Linked DNA regions of Homo sapiens: region 2 is linked to region 1. The links are contacts of gene promoters, found by promoter capture Hi-C in human tissues and cell types (Jung and others, 2019). All regions are on one chromosome and are shown on one strand. The core of a region is centred on a gene start or on the middle of the fragment in contact, and the rest is flanking DNA. Distances in the headings are between cores, read along the strand shown.

Evidence for each region. Contacts are between HindIII fragments. The study calls those that stand out against the background at their distance.
Region 2: a fragment that was not itself captured here is called in contact with the fragment with the promoter of TMEM72 in region 1 in 1 of the 25 tissues and cell types used here (dorsolateral prefrontal cortex).

Annotation. Positions count from the first base shown.
Region 1 is chr10:44,909,692-44,912,756 of GRCh38, forward strand. TMEM72 (transmembrane protein 72) reads left to right here and starts at 1,646. Exons shown (of 5, transcript NM_001123376.3): 1 at 1,646-1,891. The coding sequence starts at 1,822. The region is part of intron 2 of TMEM72-AS1 (TMEM72 antisense RNA 1); the gene reads right to left. The HindIII fragment of the contact is 5,310 bases long and covers 1-3,065 here.
Region 2 is chr10:43,829,899-43,832,963 of GRCh38, forward strand. No RefSeq gene overlaps it. Among named protein-coding and RNA genes, the nearest start is that of LINC00619, 14 kb to the right of the region's middle. The HindIII fragment of the contact is 4,882 bases long and covers 1-3,065 here.

The DNA.
Region 1 (3,065 bases), core at 396-2,895:
AAACGGTAATCTTTATGGAATGCCATGATTCTTGATCAAATTAATCAATCAAATTAAAATAATTTTAATAGCAAAAAATATCTATTCATTATATATGTTGAGGGTGTATCATCCTCAAGCAAGAAACATGCAAGCCAGGCATGGTGCACACCTGTGGTCCCGGCTACTCAGGAGGCTGAGGTGGAAGGATCGCCTGAGCCTGGGAGGTTGAGGCCACAAAGATTGTGCCACTGCACTCCATCCTGGGCAACAGACAAGACCTTGTCTCAAAAAAAAAAAAAAAAAGAAAAGAGGAAAGAAAGGAAGGGGAAGGGGAAGGAGAAGGGGAGGGAGGGGAGGGGAAGGGAGGGGAGGGAAGGGCCAAACTAATTGTTCTTGAGTTTTCCGTTATTATTGGCAGACCTTGGCTTTCCATGGTTCAACTTAGGATGGTGTGAAAATGATGTACATTCAGTAGAAATTGTACTTTAAATTTTGGATTTTGATGTTTTCCTGGGCTAGCAACATGCCCTACAATATATTCTTACATGAGCTACTCCACACTTTATAACATAAACCTTGTGTTAGATGATTTTGCCCAACCATAAACTAAGTGTTCTGAGCACATTTAAGTAGGCCAGGCTAAGCTCTGATGTTCAGTAGGTTGGTTGGATTAAGTGCATTTTTAACTTAAAATATTTTCAATGTCTGATGGGTTTTTTGGGACATAACCCCATCATAAGTTGAGGAGCATGTGTATTGGGTTTGCTTGGAGTTTTTTTCCTTATTTGGTTGTTTTGTTTTCTATCTTATATGAGCAAAGGGGTAAAAGATTTCAGAAAAACACCTGAGAGATAAATCTTAATACCATTCAATCTAGCACATCCGTTAGTAAATTAAGAATGAGGGAAAGCCCACCACTGTCCAAGTGTAAAGGCTGGGCTCCTTGAAACAGCTACAGGGACACTCCAAGTACATCAAAAACACCAATTCAGCCAAAACTTCACATTTATTTTCTGCAAAAGTTACCAAGGCTCACAGATGCCTTTGGGTTTCCCCAAGGTCACCCGGTTAATTATTGACATAGCAACTCCCCTCGCAAAACAAAGAATCAAAATGATTTCCCACGTCCCATGTTGGGATGCATGTTAATGAGGAAGGAAGGCCTCTGCGTGGCGGGGCCTGAGCTAAGTATGTCTAGTCAGAGTCCAAATCCGGGACAGATTTGAAAAGCTTTCTAATCCACCTATACGCAGAAGAATAAAGCTTGGAACTCATTTCAAAAGTTGTTTCTACTGGTGATTTAAAGACACACTCCTCTCTCCCATATGCACATAAGCACAGACCTGCAAGAGCACTGTCCCCTCCAGAGCCAGACACTACAGGCCCCCAGCAAGTGTGAAATCCAGGTGTGACTTTCTAGGCATGGCTTGGTGAGGAAGGGCCTGGCCCACTCCTTGGCTCCCTCCTCCCAGCCAGAAACGGTTAATTGCCAGCTCCAGACTGCCTCCAGCCCAGCCCTAATCGCCGATCTCAGGCGGCTGGGCTGCGCTGGGGCTGAGCGGCTCCAGCCCAGGCTGGGGTTGTGTGAGCAGCAGGAGCATTCTTCCAAGGTAATGATTAAGCTGAGTGCCTGGCAAGGGCACGGGCTGAGAGCACAGAAGGTGAGCCCTATTCACACCTCGGCCAGGCTGCGGTGGCCAGGACTGGTTTGGGAAGGCAGGGCCCCGGTGTGCAGCCACAGCCAGCAGCCTCCTACCTACACAAGGGTGTTCGGGAGCATCTCAGGGCCGAAGACTTTGCTGCCTGCCCTGCCAGGACTTTGTCCTCACCCCTGGCACCATGCAGCTCCAGGTGTTCTGGACTGGGCTGGAATACACCTGCCGGCTCCTGGGCATCACCACTGCTGCAGGTAAGACCCTGCCTCCTGGCTGCTGATCCTTGCACACTGGCACCACAGATAGGGCTGCCTGAGGGGTGGGAGGTGGCCAGGAGACAGCAGGCACATCTGGCCACTTCTGTGCTTCAATTTTTTTCCCAAGACCCCTAGAAACACTGCTCTGTAGAGCAGCAGCAAGTGCAGTGGGGTGAGCCTAGGGCTGGGGACCAGAGGGCTGGGTGCTGGATCTTTGCTTGGCAAGTCACCCTCCCTGTGACCTTGGGAAGCCTCAAGATCCTCATCTGCAAAATGATTCCAGGGGCCACCCCACCTACGCAGAGAGTTGTCATGAGATGGAGGTGGAGACAGAAGGTGAAGATAGAAAGGGCTGGGCTTCGCTGTGTATCTACAAAAGGTCAACTGAGCTCATCCTGCTTTACTCAAACCATAGCCCTACCTCATGGAGAGAGAACTCCCAGTCATGAGCAGCTCTGCCCTGGAGGGACAGGCTGAGCCTGGCTGGACGTGGAGATCACAGGCTTCCCTCGGGCCCATGCTGGACCCTGTTAACAGAACACCCTGTAGGAACCCAGACCCCTGTCTGAGGTCTGACTGCAGGAATGCACTGTGGTCTTAGCAGCAGAGATGCTTCCCAGAGATGCTGGGCTCCTTCCTTCACCCAGCAGAATCACAGGGCTGCTCAACTGGACAGGAGGGCAGACTGTTAGAGCAGAGCCCAGAGCCACCATCCTGAGCCCTGCCTGCTCGCTTCCCCAGGGCAGGCCTGACCCTTAGCCCCATTCCCCCTACAGAGCCAGGATCTGTTTTGGGGAAATGAACAGGCAGAATTCTGAGCCCTTAACTCTGAGCCACATTGTCCCTTGGGGACAAAGAGAGACACACCCCCTATCAAAGCCCTTCCCCACCACTGGGCAAAAGCTTACCCACGGGTCTTACCAAATGGGAAAGTTCTCCTAGGTCAAAATCACATAGTGCTTGTTCCTGCCCCAGCCTAGTCACTTGCGTGATATATGACCTTGGGGAGCCCCTGACCCCTCTGAGGCTGCACTTTCTGATCTGTATGATGGGGACCTGCTGGCCAGGTGTTTGGACAGATTAAGGATGCAGGAACTGAGCATGGCTAAGTGGAACTGAGGATGAAAACCTCTCAGCAGAAGCCCCCATGACACACTCCAGAGCTCAATGG
Region 2 (3,065 bases), core at 304-2,803, 1.1 Mb before region 1:
AAGATGGCATACAAATGGCCAATGGGTCTATTAAAAAAAAACTCAACATCATTGATCATCAGGGAATGCAAATTAAAGCCAGGATGAGATATTTCCTCACACCTGTTTGGATGGCTATTATAAGAAATATAAGAGATTAAAAAGTGTTTTTGAGGATGTGTGGAAAAGAAAACCTTTGTAAACTGTTGGTGGGAATTTAAATTAATACAGTCATTTTGGGAAACAGTATGGAGGTTCCTCAAAAAGTTAAAAACAGATCCAGCCATGGTGGCTCATGCCTGTAATCCCAGCACTTTGGGAGGCTGAGGCAGGTGGATTACAAGGTCAGGAGTTTGAGACCAGCCTGGCCAATATGGTGAAACCCCGTCTCTACTAAAAATACAAAAATTAGCTGGGCATGGTAGTCCTAGCTGCTCGGGAGGCAAAGGCAGGAGAATCGCTTGAACCCAGGAGGCAGAGGGTGCAGTGAGTCGAGATTGTGCCACTGCACTCCAGCCTGGGTGACAGAGCAAGACTCCATCTCAAAAAAAAAAAATTAAAAACAGAACTACCATATGGTCGAGCCATTATGCTTGTGGATATATAGCCAAAGGAAATGAAATACTTATGTTGAAGAGGTATCTGCACTCCCATGTTCACTGCAGCATTATTATCCAGAGCTAAGATATGGAAACAGCCTAACTGTCCATCAACAAATAAATGAATAAGAAAAATATAGTATATATACACAACAACATACTATTCAGCCTTTAAAAAGAAAGAAATCCTGTCATTTGCAACAAGGATAAACCTGGATGACATTATGCTAAGTGAAATAAACCAGGCATAGAAAGACAAATACTACAAGGTCTCACTTATATGTGGAGTCTAAGAGTTGAACTCACAGAAGCAGAGAGGTGGTTACCAGGGGCTGGAGAGTAGGAAACAGGGAAGATATTGGTTAAAGAATGTAGAATTTCAGTTAGACAGGAGGAATAAGTGGGAATTCTATTGTGCAACATGGTGATTATAGGAAACAACAATGTATTATATGCTTGAAAATTGCTCAAAGAGTAGATTTTAAATTTTCTCACCATCAAAAAAGATGTGTGAGGTTAATTAGCTTGATTTAGTCATTTCACAATATATACATATATTAAAACATCATGTTATACACCTTAAATAAATATACAATTTTGTCAATTAAAAAAAGTAAAAAGAGAAATAAGATTGGAGTGAAATAATTAGAAATATAATTACTCATAGATACATTATTGTCTATATGCTAAATGCCACAGAATGTACAATGGAATCATTAAATTGATAAAATATGTATCTGTTGTTTCCTGACTTTTTAATGATCGCCATTCCAACTGGCGTGAGATGTATCTCACTGTGGTTTTGATTTGCATTTCTCTAATGACCAGTAATGATGAGCTTTTTTTCATATGTTTGTTGGCCACATAAATGTCTTCTTTTGAGAAGTGTCTGTTCATATCCTTTGCCCACTTTTTGATGGGGTTGCTTGTTTTTTTCTTGTAAATTTGTTTAAGTTCTTTGTAGATTCTGGATATTGGCCCTTTGTCAGATGGATAGATTATAAAAATTTTCTCCCATTCTGTAGGGTGTCTGTTCACTCCGATAATAGTTTCTTTTGCTGTGCAGAAGCTCTTTAGTTTAATTAGATCCCATTTGTCAATTTTGGATTTTGTTGCCGTTGCTTTTGGTATTTTAGTCATGAAGTCTTTGCCTATGCCTATGTCCTGAATGGTATTGCCTAGGTTTTCTTCTAGGATTTTTACGGTTTTAGGTCTTATGTTTAAGTCTTTAACCCATCTTGAGTTAATTTTTGTATAAGATGTAAGGAAGGGGTCCAGTTTCAGTTTTCTGCGTATGGCTAGCCAGTTTTCCCAGCACCATTTATTAAATAGGGAATCCTTTCCCCATTTCTTGTTTTTGTCAGGTTTGTCAAAGATCAGATGGTTGTAGATGTGTGACATATTTTCTGAGGCCTCTGTTCTGTTCCATTGGTCTATATATCTGTTTTGGTACCAGTACCATGCTAGTTTTGGTTACTGTAGCCTTGTAGTATAGTTCGAAGTCAGGTAGTGTGGTGCCTCCTGCTTTGTTCTTTTTGCTTAGGATTGTCTTGGCAATGCAGGCTCTTTTTTGGTTCCATATGAAATTTAAAGTAGTTTTTTCTAATTCTGTGAAGAAAGTCCATGGTAGCTTGATGGGCATAGCATTGAATCTATAAATTACTTTGGCAGTATGGCCATTTTCACAATATTGATTCTTCTTATCCATGAGCATGGAATGTTTTTCCATTTGTCTGTGTACTCTCTTATTTATTTGAGCAGTGGTTTGTAGTTCTCCTTGAAGAGGTCCTTCACATCCTTTGTAAGTTGTATTCCTAGGTATTTTATTGTCTTTGTAGCAATTGTGAATGGCAGTTCACTCATGATTTGGCTCTCTGTTTGTGTATATTATTATTAATGTACTATTACATTATTAGTGTATAGGAATGTTTGTGATTTTTGCACACTGATTTTGTATCCTGAGACTTTGCTGAAGTTGCTTATCAGCTTAAGGAAATTTTGGGCTGAGATGATGGGGTTTTCTAAATAAACAATCATGTCATCTGCAAACAGAGACAATTCGACTTCCTCTCTTCCTATTTGAATACATTTATTTCTTTCTCTTGACTGATTGCCCTGGCCAGAACTTCCAATATTATGTTGCATAAGAGTGGTGAGAAAGGGCATCCTTGTCTTGTGCTGGTTTTCAAAGGGAATGCTTCCAGCTTTTGCCTATTCAGTATGATACTGGCTGTGGGTTTGTCATAAATAGCTCTTATTATTTTGAGATACATTCCATCAATACCTAGTTTATTGAGAGTTTTTAGCATGAAGGGGTGTTGAATTTTATTGACGGACTTCTCTGCATTTATTGAGATAATCGTGTGGTTTTTGTCATTGGCTCTGTTTATGTGATGGATTACGTTTATTGATTATGTTAAGTGGAACCAGCCTTGCATCCCAGGGATGAAGCTGACTTGATCATGGTGGATAAGCTTTTTCATGTGC